Regions from separate parts of the Homo sapiens genome. Here regions 1, 2, 3 and 5 are each linked to region 4. The links are contacts of gene promoters, found by promoter capture Hi-C in blood cells and fetal thymus (Javierre and others, 2016). All regions are on one chromosome and are shown on one strand. The core of a region is centred on a gene start or on the middle of the fragment in contact, and the rest is flanking DNA. Distances in the headings are between cores, read along the strand shown. Region 1 holds the start of MED24 (mediator complex subunit 24). Region 2 holds the start of CACNB1 (calcium voltage-gated channel auxiliary subunit beta 1). Region 3 holds the start of ORMDL3 (ORMDL sphingolipid biosynthesis regulator 3). Region 4 holds the start of PPP1R1B (protein phosphatase 1 regulatory inhibitor subunit 1B). Region 5 holds the start of CSF3 (colony stimulating factor 3).

What was found. The method cuts DNA at HindIII sites, captures the fragments that hold promoters and counts their contacts. A CHiCAGO score of 5 or more calls a contact.
Region 1: the fragment with the promoter of MED24 here is called in contact with the fragment with the promoter of PPP1R1B in region 4 in 11 of 17 cell types (fetal thymus, total CD4 T cells, naive CD8 T cells and 8 more); the score reaches 18.7 in fetal thymus.
Region 2: the fragment with the promoter of CACNB1 here is called in contact with the fragment with the promoter of PPP1R1B in region 4 in 4 of 17 cell types (naive CD8 T cells, total B cells, neutrophils and 1 more); the score reaches 7.2 in naive CD8 T cells.
Region 3: the fragment with the promoter of ORMDL3 here is called in contact with the fragment with the promoter of PPP1R1B in region 4 in 14 of 17 cell types (activated CD4 T cells, naive CD8 T cells, total CD4 T cells and 11 more); the score reaches 15.6 in activated CD4 T cells.
Region 5: a contact is called between the fragment with the promoter of CSF3 here and the fragment with the promoter of PPP1R1B in region 4, in 5 of 17 cell types (naive CD8 T cells, fetal thymus, total B cells and 2 more). The highest score is 8.8, in naive CD8 T cells.

What each region holds. Positions count from the first base shown.
Region 1 is chr17:40,052,964-40,055,663 of GRCh38, reverse strand. It overlaps MED24 (mediator complex subunit 24), which reads left to right and starts at 1,256. Exons shown (of 26, transcript NM_014815.4): 1 at 1,256-1,303; 2 at 2,029-2,195; 3 at 2,284-2,366. The coding sequence starts at 2,066. RefSeq lists an enhancer at 997-1,056. The HindIII fragment of the contact is 3,100 bases long and covers 1-2,373 here.
Region 2 is chr17:39,196,316-39,199,015 of GRCh38, reverse strand. It overlaps CACNB1 (calcium voltage-gated channel auxiliary subunit beta 1), which reads left to right and starts at 1,347. Exons shown (of 14, transcript NM_000723.5): 1 at 1,347-1,604. The coding sequence starts at 1,521. RefSeq lists silencers at 1,050-1,179, 1,190-1,589, 2,020-2,149. The HindIII fragment of the contact is 8,246 bases long and covers 1-2,700 here.
Region 3 is chr17:39,926,351-39,929,050 of GRCh38, reverse strand. ORMDL3 (ORMDL sphingolipid biosynthesis regulator 3) reads left to right here and starts at 1,450. Exons shown (of 4, transcript NM_139280.4): 1 at 1,450-1,567. LRRC3C (leucine rich repeat containing 3C) reads right to left here and starts at 1,319. Exons shown (of 4, transcript NM_001195545.2): 1 at 1,237-1,319. It overlaps LOC124903999 (a long non-coding RNA gene), which reads right to left and starts at 2,331. Exons shown (of 2, transcript XR_007065750.1): 1 at 2,289-2,331; 2 at 2,049-2,123. RefSeq lists enhancers at 974-1,585, 1,586-2,196. The HindIII fragment of the contact is 24,326 bases long and covers 1-2,700 here.
Region 4 is chr17:39,625,670-39,628,369 of GRCh38, reverse strand. It overlaps PPP1R1B (protein phosphatase 1 regulatory inhibitor subunit 1B), which reads right to left and starts at 1,418. Exons shown (of 7, transcript NM_032192.4): 1 at 897-1,418. The coding sequence starts at 977. The HindIII fragment of the contact is 16,288 bases long and covers 1-2,700 here.
Region 5 is chr17:40,014,131-40,016,830 of GRCh38, reverse strand. CSF3 (colony stimulating factor 3) reads right to left here and starts at 1,391. Exons shown (of 5, transcript NM_172219.3): 1 at 1,317-1,391; 2 at 986-1,140; 3 at 491-598; 4 at 200-346; 5 at 1-36. The coding sequence starts at 1,356. PSMD3-AS1 (PSMD3 antisense RNA 1) reads left to right here and starts at 2,190. Exons shown (of 3, transcript NR_198981.1): 1 at 2,190-2,277; 2 at 2,472-2,593. RefSeq lists an enhancer at 982-1,481. The HindIII fragment of the contact is 16,036 bases long and covers 1-2,700 here.

The DNA.
Region 1 (2,700 bases), core at 7-2,506, 430 kb before region 4:
TCCATGTTTATTTATTTATGTATTTTGGTAGAGCTGAGAGTCTCATTATGTTGCCCAGGCTGGATTTGAACTCCCGAGCTCAAGTGATCCTCCTTTCTCAGCCTCCCGAGTAATTTACTCTTATTCCTGGTTGTAAATGTTAGGGATGACCAGTCCATAGCATGGGGAGGGATGAGGGCTATGCATAAGAAGGCTCAGACATTGGAGCCTCCAGAGGTGGGTAACATTTGCTTTCGGGTTTCTCACTGGGGGAAGGAAAGGCTATGGCCAAAGCCCTGGGCATAATTTATATATGGATCTTTGGGATAAGCAAGATTTAAACAACAACAACAACAACAACAACAAGAAACTTAAAAAAACAAGTTTTTAATTTACAGGAAAAAAATGGAAGGTAATAGAGGGTCCCCACATATTCTGCACCCAATTTCTCTTTTTATTAACATCTTAGCATTAGTATTATGCATTTGTAACAACTAATGAACTAATATTGATACATTATTATTAATTAAAGTCCACCCTTTATTTAGATTTCCTTAGTTTTTACCCAGTATTCTTTTTCTCTTCCATGATCGCATTCAGAAAACCACATTACATTTAGTCATCAGGTCTCCTTAGCCCTCTTAGTTGTGACAGTTTCTCAGAATTCCTTTGATTTTGATCACCTTCACCTTAGTTTCCTCTTTACTTTCCCTTGTATCCAAGCTGTATGGAGGGCCTGGAGATTCTGATAGGACTGTAAGATTCGGGGACGGTGATATGTGTGCAACTAAGGCACCTCGGTGTCGCTTTTAGAATATAGTTGTGGAAATGAGAATAGCTCTGGTAGCTCCAGGGGCTTAGGAGAACAGAAAGAGCCCAGGAAAGGAGAAAGACCTTATTGCTGAACGCCACACCCTTGCCCCCACGCCACACCCTTGCCGCACCTACTAACTAGGGGCTAACGAATGAAAGGGTGTCGGAATATGATGGAGAAGCCCGGTCGACAGTGACGTCGTGGGCGACGCCGGGTTGTGAGCGGCCTTTCGAGCTCCCTCGAGTCCCTGAGTCTCTGTAGTGCCTCAGCTCCTGGATGTCCTCCCTTAAAGGAGAAGAACAATGCGGGCCGACTAGACGAGTCCCTTAGTTTCCTCGCCGGCGCAGACAAATACGGTTTCAGTCCAAGGAACTACCATTCCCAGAAGACAGCGGGGCGTTCCTTGCTGCATTTCTATTGGTTGGCGTTTGTTACTCCCAGCCAATAGAAAGTGAGCTTCTTGACAAGTGCCAAAATGGCGATGCCTACCACCTAGAACTGGATTGTGCGGTAGGCTTAAATTTGGGGAGGTGGTGGATGAAAAGGAAATTGGGAGGTATAGTTACAGGGCTGGAGAAGGTGGAGGAAATGAGGGAGCAAATCTGGACTTGGAATGGTGGTGGCCAAGGGACGCTTTTAGAGCTAAGGGCGTAATTAGGCAACCAGGACTGCCTTAACTCCTTGATGCCCTGTTTAATCTATTAGTCCCTTTGATACTTCTTTATTCATTTATTTGAGAGACGGAGTTTTGCTCTTGTTGCCCAGGCTGGAGTGCAATGGTGCGATCTCGGCTCACCCCAACAACCTCCGCCTCCCGGGTTCAAGCGATTCTACTGCCTCAGCCTCCCGAGTAGCTGGGATTACAGGCATGCACCACCAAGCCCGGCTAATTTTGTATTTTTAGTGGAGACGAGGTTTCTCCATGTTGGTCAGGCTAGTCTCGAACTCCTGACCTCCGGTGATTCGCCCGCCTCTGCCTCCCGAAGTGCTGGGATTACAGGTGCGAGCCACTGCGCTCGGCCGATACTTTCTTAGTGCCCCAGTTTAAGGAAGGGCGGTTCAGGAGGAGAGAGTCTGACAGGATCTTACTTTATCCCTTTAGCTCTTTTTCTTTCAAATTCCTCTGTCTCGCTTAAATCTTCCCGCATCTTCTCCTTTCTATTTAATTCTGCCTTCCCCGGTTCTCCTTAGAACCTCATGTCCTTTTCTTTAGCTCCATTTCTTTCACCTCAAAGCTGGCCGCCACCGCTGCCACCTGCTCAGAGTGAAATAATGAAGGTGGTCAACCTGAAGCAAGCCATTTTGCAAGCCTGGAAGGAGCGCTGGAGTGACTACCAATGGGCAATCAACATGAAGAAATTCTTTCCTAAAGGAGCCACCTGGGATATTCTCAACCTGGCAGGTCTCAAGTGAACTGGGAAAGAAAGATGGGAGGGATAAACCCAGAGAAGTTGTAATCACTCAGTTGTGTTTTGCTATTCCTCTTGCAGATGCGTTACTAGAGCAGGCCATGATTGGACCATCCCCCAATCCTCTCATCTTGTCCTACCTGAAGTATGCCATTAGTTCCCAGGTAAGCTTCCCGCAAACCCCCACCAAGAAGTGAGAGTTCTGGGGGTAAAAAACTTGGAGTGCATTTGGGCCCCGGTGGTTCATGGCTGTAATCCCAGCATTGTGGGAGGCTGAGGCAGGCGGATTGCTTGAGCCCAGGAGTTCAAGACCAGCCTGCGTAACATGGCAAAACCCAGTCTCTACCCAAAAATACAAAGAGTTACCCCTGCGTGGTGGTGCCCCTGTAGTCCCAGCTACTTGGAAGGCTGAGGTGGGAGGATCACCTGAGCCCTGGGAGGTCGAGACTGCAATGAGCCATGATCCTGCCACTGCCCTCCAGCCAGAGCAACAGAGTG
Region 2 (2,700 bases), core at 98-2,597, 430 kb after region 4:
GCAGGTGGAAACCCTGCTCAGGGTTGGAACTCTCCTGGAACGTTTCTAATGGGCTTCATCTTCACTCACTGCTCCGCCTTCCCCAAGGTGTTGTGATCAGAGGAATGACAGACTGACCATTCACTTGCTATTAGAGTTGGGTGAGGAGGAGGAGTCCCATAGTCTCCTGTCCTGCGGAACACAGCAAGGTGGTGGCCTTATTGTAAGGTCACTTGACCTGGAGAGGGTCTTCTCCATCTCTCCTTTCTGTGGAGCAGGAGAAGGGGTGGAGTAGGAAGGGAATGGGTCCTCCTGTCATGAGTGACCCCTTCATTGAAACTTACAGCTTCTCCAAACACCCCAGCAATTCATTTAATTCTCCCTCATCCTCCCAATAATACCAGGTGACACAGACTCCACAGTACCAGCAACCCCATTTTATAGGAGAGGAGGAAACTGATGCTCAGAGAGGTGATTTGTCCGGGGCTATACAACCAGAAACAGCCTGAGCCAAATTGGCGCCAGAGTCTATTGCCCAGAATCTCCTATTCCTCTTCTCTCCACCAGTCATGGTGGGTGGCATCCAGATCTTGGATGTTTCTCCCTAAATCAGGGGTAAAGGTGGCGCAATTCTAGGTCAAAGGTCATGAGATCTGATTTTACCAGCTTCTCCTCTCTCAGCTCCATATTTCTTCCTCTTTTCTCATCCAAGAGCAGGGACCTCACCCAGCCCCATTCCTGGCCTTTTGGAAGAACAGGGGTTGGGGGGGCGGTGTATCCTAGTGACTGATTAGGGCAGAACTCCTGGACCCCTGGGATTTATTTTGCTGTCTCTATTGGACACCCTCCCCATCTCAGCCTCAGCCTCCCACCGGCAGCCCCAGAGCCATGTTGGAGGGAGAGGCTTTTCTGTTTGGTTTGAGGCAGCCTGGGCCCCACACTGGGGAGAAAGGAGTTAAAGCCAGGTCCCAGGATCACCGGGACCGGGAAGTTCCGGTGGTCCAAACAGGAGTGGGTTGGGGGGACCCGCAGGAAGAGAGGTTTGGGACAAAAGGGGGGTGGTGCCAGCCATGCCAATCCCCATCAGCGCTCGGCATCCACTGGTAGACCGCCCCCCCACCCCTCCCCCAAGTTCCACGCCTAGTTTCTGCCTTCCCGCCCCAGCGGGCCGCCTGCACCCCACGGCCAGTCAGAGGCCCACCTGCGGCCACCTAGAGCCGAGAGGGGCTTGCCTCCCTGCTGCCGCACGCCCATTGTGTGCGCCGAGCCGGCGGAGGGGCTGCGAGGGGCGGGGCCGGGCGGGCGGAGGGAGGGAGCGAGGGAGGGGCGCGGGGAGATGCTGAGCCTACGGGGGAGGCGGCGGCGGCAGTGGAGAGAGCGGGAGGAGCGAGGGAAGGCAGGAAGGAGGCAGCCGAAGGCCGAGCTGGGTGGCTGGACCGGGTGCTGGCTGCGCCGCGCTGCTTTCGGCTCCCACGGCCTCTCCCATGCGCTGAGGGAGCCCGGCTGGGCCGGGCCGGCGGCGGGAGGGGAGGCTCCTCTCCATGGTCCAGAAGACCAGCATGTCCCGGGGCCCTTACCCACCCTCCCAGGAGATCCCCATGGAGGTCTTCGACCCCAGCCCGCAGGTGAGGCGTGGTGGCCCGGCCCAACGGGAGGGGGTCGCTCCCGCGGACCGTGTTAAGGTCGGCTCGAGAGGCGCGGGAGAGGAAGGGGTTATATGCCGGGCGCGGAGGAGAGAGGGATGCCTGCGCGCCCCCCATCCTTGCAGGTTGTGATTGATGGGCGCTGGGCCTGGGGCTGGGTGGCGATGCTGCGGAGCGGGGAGGGGGCGGGTGGGCTGCCTGTCACCCTCGCCTCCTTATCTCCCCCGCGTCAAGGTTCCTGCCGCTTGGGCACCAGCTTCAGTGGGCTGAGCGTGGGGGTGCTGGTGGAGGGGGATCTGGGCCTTGAGAAGGGGAGGTTGAAAGAGGCTAGAAAGCGAGCCAGGCAAGGGGGGCGACGCAGAGCACGCTCGGGGGCGCCAGGCGGGTGTGGGTGGGGCGGGGGTGGCACGAGGAGGTGGCCGAGGCGATGGTCAGAGGGCGGTGCCAAATGCCAACAGGCCTTCAAAGCCGCAGACACTGGTTCTCGAGGGTGGGGAAAGAGCCAACCCCGGTCGAGGTCCCCTCCCAGCCACCTGGGCTCCATCTCTATGTCGGACCTGCTCCCCTCCCCCCACACCCACGTTGACTTACCCCACCCCCACCCCCGCCCCAAAAACGCCTCCAAAGTTTGGAAAGTTGGATGGATGCCAACTCATAGGAGGGGGGGAAGCTGTTTTACCTGGGGGAGGGGTCTACTTCTCCATCCCCACCCGCACACTTTTCCTACACCCCTGGTTACTCCCAGGAAGTGGCATTCTTGGGCGCGGTGGGTTCTCATGGGGTGACCAGCAGGCTCTGGGATGGTCGCGCCAGGGGATTTCTTTGGGAGTGTCCTTCTCCAAGGATAGCATTAACTCTTCTGTTACTGTGGCCACCAGCTGTAACCACCATGATAATGTGACTGATGGGTATGTAGAGGGGTCAAGTCAGACCTAAAAATACCTTCCTCCACCCCAGGCCCCTTTGAGCCTGGGAGGCAGCTGACTGGGGCCTTCCTTTCAGCTGTCCCCTGTCCCTCTGAGTGCCACTCCCTTTGCCCAGCCTGGCAGTGGTGGGGGAGGGTGGTGTCTGGGATTCA
Region 3 (2,700 bases), core at 201-2,700, 300 kb before region 4:
AGGCACCTCCACAAACCAGGAGAAACTTCCACAGGACATAGGCAGAGCTATTTCAGACTCAGATGATTATTTCGATCTTGGAATGAGCCCTTTTGGGGCCATTGGCCCTGGAAATATTGAAGAAGCTGCCTGTTCTGCTCTGGGTGGTTCAAATACCCACCTGCCTGGTGACCACTAAGTGCCTCTGGGGGTCCCACTCCAGCTGTGTGACAACTGTTTCCTGGCAGCCCCCTGGGGAAGGAAAGGTAGGTGTAGTCCGAGTAAAGTGCTCCGCAGTTTCCCTGGGCTAGCCTTTTCCTTCCTGTTCCCTCACTTTCAGTTCAGGGTGCCATGAACTGCCATTCAGAGTCAGGTTGGCATGCCATGACATCATCTGACCTTGCTATTCCAGCCCTGCCCTGCATAGAGTGGACTTAGAAAGAAGCTGGGTAAGGAGTTGAAACTACCCAGACAAGACCTCTTGGTGACATGGAGAATGGGAGTAACCGAGGAGACCTCAAGAGCCATTTAGTTCAACCTCCTACAGTAATATTAAGTAGATTCCTACAATGCAACAGGTGCTTTACATACATTCTTTTGGGTTCCCACAACCTTGGAGGTGGGGTTTCACAGGTGTGGAATTGGAGATTAAGACAAGTAATTTGCCCAGGGTCACACTGCCAATAAAGGAGGGCCTACCCCATGTCTACCAGGCAGTAAAGTCTGTGCCCTTGCCTTTAGACGATGCAGATGTGAAAACTGCAGACCAGAGCCTCTCATTCAAAGCCACACAAGCTGACCTGAGACAGAAACTCAGGCTCCTTACTACTGATGGAGGAATCTATGATACGTAGCCTCTTCTCACGTCAGGTGCGGGGCGGCCAAGGATGTGGCCCGGTCCGGGGCAGCCTGGGCCAAGCGTGACTGAGAAGGAGAAGGCAGGCTCCGTTCCGGGCCCTCCAGACCCTCATCCCAGCCAATGTTGTGAAAAGCGCTCTCCCAGGAGGGCCCAGCAGGGCAAAGGGCCGGGCTAGTCTGTTTCTGGAGGAGCCAATCTGGGGCCAGGGCGGAGGCAGCCAGGTGCAGTGGAAAAATCCTGCAGTTGGGGTCAGAATATTTGGGTTTCGATCCAGTCTAGGACCCAGCAAAGACCTACAGAAAGTTACTTACAAGTCCGAGTCTCCTCATCTGCAAAACTGGGGCACGGATAAAATACACTTGAAGGGCACAGAAGCAAAAGTTGGAATTGTTACGCACCAAAATTCTATCATCCGATCTGACCATCACGTCACGGTACAACTTCCAACCGTGCGTCCCCGAAGAGGCCGGGAACGGAGCCCAGGAAAAACTACAACTCCCAGGAGGCGTCGGGAGGGCCGGCCCGGAGCCAGCGGAAGAAACTACAACTCCCAGAAGGCGTCGGGCGTGCCGGCGCGGGGCGGTGACGTACGGGGACCGGCGCGGAGCGCTGATTCGGCCGGAGCTGCCAGCGGGGAGGCTGCAGCCGCGGGTTGTTACAGCTGCTGGAGCAGCAGCGGCCCCCGCTCCCGGGAACCGTTCCCGGGCCGTTGATCTTCGGCCCCACACGGTGAGCCCGGAAGGAACCAAGAGGCCCCAGGGCTACGGGAGGGGCGGGAGAGAAGGTGGGGGCTGCTGGGGAGGCGCCCCGGGCTGGAGAGACGGGGGCAGAGGGAGTGGGGGGTGGAGGGAGTGCATCAGCCGAGGGGGTGCATCGGCTGGGGAGGTGGCCAAGGAATAAAGTGCGAGCGGGAGGCCGGGGGTGGAACGTCGGGAGGAGCGCCTCGGCTAGGGGTGGGAGGCGGGGAGCGGCTCGGCTTCGGGGATAAACGTTTGGCTGCCTCCAGGGCTGGGTGAACGCGTGGAGATGGCTGTGGGGTCCCGGACCGGACCGGGTTCCGAGTGCGAAGACCCAGGCTGGGGAACAGAGCGGGACCCCTCCCCCCGGCCCCGCACCCGAGGTCTCACTCAGAAAACCCCAACAACAGTGAGGACTCCGCCTCTTCGCTCCTCCTCTCCTGTGCTTAGTGCGGGTTCGCCTGGGCACTCGCTTTCCGCTCCTACCGCCCTCCCCCAGTCGGGGTGGCTGGGCCAAAGTTGAGAGGTTATCAGCTGTGGTCCTGCAGCTTGGGGGGTGGGCGGAATGGACATGGCATTGTGACGTGCTGCCCCGGACTCCCCGTTGGGGTCCCCATCCAGGCCTGGATGTTTTGTGCTCCTCTTCCAGAAGACAGGAGGTTTGCTGTTGTGAGGGCTGCTCTTTCCTGGGGGAGGGAATGGGAAGGGCTCACCTGGTGGCTGCCCTGGTGGTGCTCAGCCTTGGCTTGAGTGTCTGGCATACTGGCTGGGCCCGGATATTTGTATGTGGAGCCAAGAGGGTGGGGCGGGAAGGAGGGGGAAAGAGCTACCAGCAAAAAAGTGGTTAACACAACAGAGTTGCTGCAGGCTCTGGTTTGAGGCAGGTTATGAAACCACATCAGGGCCCAGCACTAAGCAGCCACCTGCCAGCTATGGCAGCAGAAGTTTTCGGCTCAACTCCTGTAGACCTAGTCGACCTCTGCCAGCCTCTTCTCTCTGTTTCTCCCCATCTAGGGTAGGGGCCAGTTGGTTGTTTTACTAATGGAAGTGATATGTATCCATAGTCACACGAAAGTCTCAAGAGTGTTTCCTCATTGCCAGTCTTTTTGTTAGTTTATTGATCTC
Region 4 (2,700 bases), core at 169-2,668:
GAGAACCAGGTGAGTTAAGCTGAAACTGCCACCTCCCCAGCCAAGCTCCCCATGACACCCTCATGACCCAAAGCTGCTTAGGCCCAGGACTGTACCCCCTGCCCTCTATCTCCCCCCATAATGACTTGGCCCCCTCATCACTGCTCAGTGGGGAGCCAGCTGCATCTCAGCTCAGCAACAAGTGACCCCTGCTCCACTAGGGATGGGAAGTGGAGCTCTCTGTCACAGCACCCGCCAGCCTTTGGAAGCCCCTCAACCCCCAAGAAGGCCCTCAGGAGGACTCAGTAGTCTGTGGGAAGAGGTCTGGCTTTGTGATGACTCCCCACCTCTCCCTCCTTGGGGTTGGGGCTCTGGGGCCTGACAGCAGGAGGCCAGAGCCAGGTTCTGGAGACCCCAGCCCAGGCACACACGCGGGATTAGAGAGGGGCAGGGTAGTGGATTCACCCGGTGGCAGCCTCATACTCCTGCCCTGGGTGACAAGGTCAGTGTCCACCGCTGCTCACATCTGACCAGCTCTGGGACAGAGCCAGGCGGAGCGGTCCCGGTGGTAGCCTAGGAGACTGACTACCCTTTGGGGACTGTGCTGGGACCAAAGGACGCCCCCACCCCACTCCTGGGCGGTCTGGAATCGGCCTGTCCCCCCACCCCCGCACCCCCAGCCTCACTGCCAGGAACTCTCTTGCCCCGGGATCAGGACCAAAGCCGCGGGGAAAAGTTGCACGAGTCTCCAGCTAACTTCACACGCGGCCCCGCGCCCCGTCCTGACCGAGGCAGAGCCCGGCTCTCCTTGCGCCCCCACCCCCAGGCCAGTCCGGCCGGGGCAGCGCCTTGGGAGGGCGAAGAAGCCCCGCGGGGTGTGTCGGGTACGCTGCCGGGGTGGGGCACGGGCCCCTTACCATCTCCACCTGGCGGGGGTCGAGCTGGCTAGGGGGCGCGGGCACCGAGAACTGGATCTTCTTGCGGTCCTTGGGGTCCATGGCGCGCGGGGTGGGCGGTGGGGCTGGGGTGCGCGACTCGGGGTCCCGGCGGCGGTCTGTGCTGGGCTCCCCCGCGCAGGCGGCGGGCTGTGCGGCGAGAGGAGGAGGAGGGCTGTTCGCGCACGGATAAAAATACCGTGCCCGCCGAGGGGAGGGCGCGGGAGCGGGAGGAGGGTCGGCGCCCGGGCTGGGCGCGCCCCCAGGCTCTCGGGACTCGGGGCTCGCCCCCCGCGCTCGCTGAGCCAGGTCTGTGCCTCGCTCCCTCGCGCTCCCCGGCCTGGGTGTCTCTGCGTCTCGGTGTCTCTCCCCTCCTGAGTGTCTCTGCGTCTCGGTGTCTCTCCCCTCCTGAGTGTCTCTGCGTGTCTCCTCTCTCTGCCTCTCCCGTCCTTCTCCACCTCCCTCCCTCAGCCTCTCCTCCTCTCCGCGTGTGTCTCTGCCTCTGCCGGGCTCACCCTCCGGTCCCAGCTTTGGGGTCCCCAGCCCGTCCCCTCCGCCTGGGACTGGCGCCCGGGTGCTCGGAGGGAGGGTTTAGGGGAAACTGGCCAATGAGCATGGAGAATCGTGTTCTCCTGGGGCTGGGAGGAGGGTGGGAGTTAGAGCCAAGGCCTGGGGAGCCAGCTGGGGGGCCCCCTGCGGTCTCCCCAGAACTTGAAGCTGCATTATTGATGGAGTCCAGCAGAGAGGATAAAGGGGGAGGGAGGGGGAGAGGGGCAGCGGGGAGGCAGGACTCTGGCTTTAACCCCTTCGTGGTCCTGGTACTGGGAGTTTCAGAGAGGCCTGCGAGGTCGTGGGGAGAGTACCAGCCTGTCACGCTGTGAATGGGGGTGTCCTGGAAAGGGAGCGAGTGTGACCGAGTTGTGTGTGGGAGGACACGTGTCAGTCATCGTGGCAGGGAGAGTGTGCAGGGGTGTGCCGGGGCCCTGTGGTGCCCATAGCCAGGGAGTGTGTTTTGGGGGGTCCGGTGTGGTGTGAGTGTGTCTGTGTAAGTGTGTCAGAGTGTCAAAGATGCAGGTGTGAGTGGCAGGGTGTGGGAGGACTGCGTGTGTGCGGGGGAGGGTGTGGGTGTGGGGGAGGATGTCAGAGGCTGTCAAGGTGATGGGCAGGCGTGTGCCAGCTTGCAGGGGGTGGGGGACTGTATCCACAGCTCCGCTGTGCAGTTGCTGGGGTATGAGGTTGTGGATGTGTGAGCGCTCCTGTGAGGGAGAAGGGGAATGTGCCCTGCCATGATGTACTGTAGATTCACGTGGCTCCTGTCTTTCCTCTCCGGATCTAATGGGGTGGGGAGGACAGGGCCGGCCCAGAGTTGGGGTGGGTTTGGGGGCTGCCTGTACACGTGCCATCACGTGCATGAATTTGGTGCATTCAGAAGCAGGGTTGGGGGAGACAGGTGTGAGCCTCTCTCTCTCCAGAGGTATTTGTGTGTGTCTCTGGAGCGGGAGCGGGAGGAGCTGGCCCTGTGGGTGGAATGTCCCTGTCTATTTGGTCTATTTGTCCGGGCCTTGGGTGCCTTTGCAGGAGCTGCTGTTTCCCTCCTTGGAGCTGTGCAGAGGGTCTGAATGCTTCTGTCTAGCACTGAGAGGGTGTGTGTAGACGTGTACATGCATGTTTTCCTGGGGCTCTGTTTGTGTTGGCGTCCTCTCTCCTGGTCACTCTCAGGCCTGAAACCCCCAATCCTCCTGCAGCTTTTCCACTCCCAGCCCCAGCATCTGGGTCCTGGGTGGAG
Region 5 (2,700 bases), core at 142-2,641, 390 kb before region 4:
GGGCTGCAGGGCAGGGGCCATTCCCAGTTCTTCCATCTGTGGGGGAAAGCTGTGATCAGTGGTTGGGCCCTTCTGAGTGGGCGTTATTACAAATGAGGAAATGCTGGGGGTGACAGCATGGACAGGGCCCATACACAGGCCTGGCTGTGGTGCCCAGAATGCCAGCACGACCTTGGCCACCCTGCCCAACAAGGCTCACCTGCTGCCAGATGGTGGTGGCAAAGTCGGCGACGTCCAGCTGCAGTGTGTCCAAGGTGGGACCCAACTCGGGGGAGATCCCTTCCAGGGCCTGCAGGAGCCCCTGGTAGAGGAAAAGGCCGCTATGGAGTTGGCTCAAGCAGCCTGCCTGTGAGACAGAGCGGAAGAGTTAGGGGGTGCTGCCTGAGATACGTCAGGCCCCCAGCTTGGAACCTGGAGACATGGGGGAGCCCATGGGTGTTCCTCCTCTCCTTCCCCCTCCTCATTAGCCTTATCCTTTCCTGACACTCACCAGCTGCAGGGCCTGGCTGGGGCAGCTGCTCAGGGGAGCCCAGGGGATGCCCAGAGAGTGTCCGAGCAGCACCAGCTCCTCGGGGTGGCACAGCTTGTAGGTGGCACACTGGGGATGGAAGGATGCTGAGTGAGACTCGCCATGGCCGGGTCGCCGCTCCTTCCCGGGTCCTCCCCGACTCTCTGGTCTTTCCCCTCCCTCCATGTCCTGCCAGGCTGTTCAGTTCCTCTCTGCCCTGCACCCCCACTCTCTGATCTCACAGGGGCCCTTGCCCTTTCTCCTGAATGTAATGCCTCCACTCCCATCCCAGCCAGCCCTCCCGAGCACTGTCCCCACCAAGGTCCTCCTCCCCAAGTCCCTTCCCAGCCTTCCCCAGCTCCACTGCTCCTAATATTCTCCCACGTCCCTTCCAGAGGATGTTGGCCCTGCAGTTCCATCCCCCTTAGCTCTCCCCACCGGGCTTCCCTCCACAGCCCTCTCACCCACCTCACTCACCAGCTTCTCCTGGAGCGCTGCGCCATCGCCCTGGATCTTCCTCACTTGCTCTAAGCACTTGAGCAGGAAGCTCTGGGGCAGGGAGCTGGCAGGGCCCAGGGGGGTGGCTTCCTGCACTGTCCAGAGTGCACTGTGCCACAGCAGCAGCTGCAGGGCTGGGGACAGAGCGGGCTCAGGAGACATGCTGTTCCCTACCACCTGAGGCCCTCTCGGGGACACTGGGTGCCTTTAATCCCCATTCCCAGAACGGGGATCCCCAGCCCCTCTGTCACACCAGCCTCCCTCCCATGCCAGGGCAGGCGGCTCTCCCATCCTGGGCCAAGACACTCACCCATCAGCTTCATGGGGCTCTGGGTGGCAGGTCCAGCCATGGGTCTGGGTGGGGCTGGGCTGCAGGCTCCGGGCTGTTTTGGGGCCCAGCTCTAGGGGGGCCTTTATACATAACCCCATGGAGGCCTGGGAGGAAATTACCTGGGGCCACGACTAAGGCTTAGTAATAACTTCCCAGGATTTATGCAAATTTGGTGTCCAAGACAATGCAGGGGGGTTGGAACAAAAAGCTGTTTGCGAAAGTTTTGTGAAATTGTGGAATCTCTGATCCTCCTTTGACGTCGCCTTGCCCCCCTCAAACTCCCTTCCTCCCGCTGCCCCACCCAGGCCTGAATGGCCCCAGAGTGTTTGAACAGAACAGCTGAACAAAGGCTGAGCCGCTGATAGACGCCTGGAAGCGGCAGCAGCCTGTGGGGAAGTGGCAGCTGAGTCGGGGTCTCCCTCTCTGCTCTGGCAGACTTGCGGGGGCAGTGTCCTTTGCCCCTCTCCTTTGGGATTCTCAAGCCTGTCCCCCAAGCCCCCAAATTCTAAGAGAGAAAAAAAGAAGCTGGTTGCTCCCATTCCTACCCCCAAACTCTCCGGAGGCTGCCTGTCTGGGAGACCTCCTGAGCCCCTACCTGAGATAAGGACATTGGGTCTTGGCTGCTGTGCCCACCCCACACTTGGATAGGCACCATCGAAAGTTCCAGGCTGTCCTGTCCCAAGTTGATTAGCTGGGAACTCCCCCAGAAACCCCCCCGCCCCCCATGACTCATTCGGCTAAAGCCCCTAGAATCCCGGTAGAGCCAGAGGAAACCGGATGTCTGTCCCGAATGAGGCAAGACCCTTCGAGGCGATTGGCTCACCTGACCTTCACCTCCTCGTGCACGACCCTGACAGTAGGGTCCCCAAGGGCTTTGGAACTGCGGGATTGGGACACGTGACTTCCCTGGTCATTCACCTTGAAGTGGACACGGGCTGGGGTGAGAGAGGGGAAACTGCCCCATCTTCTCATCTTAGAACCATGCAGCGTTAATGCTGGAAGGGACCTTGGAGTCGATTCCAACCCCGTGAACTGGGCCAGGGAAGGAAGTGCCTTGCCCAAGGTCATGGTAAGTGACAGAATTACAGCCTGGGCCTCTGGCTCAGACCTGAACGTTTTCTTTTTCTTTTCCAGATGGAGTCTTGCTCTGTCGCCCAGGCTGGAGTGCAGTGGCGCGATCTCGGCTCACTGCAAACTCTGCCTCTCGGGTTCACGCCATTCTCCTGCCTCAGCCTCCCGAGTAGCTGGAACTACAGGTGCCCGCCACCATGCCCGGCCAATTTTTTGTATTTTTAGTAGAGACGGGGTTTCACCGTGTTAGCCAGGATGGTCACGATCTCCTGACCTCGTGATCCACCCGCCT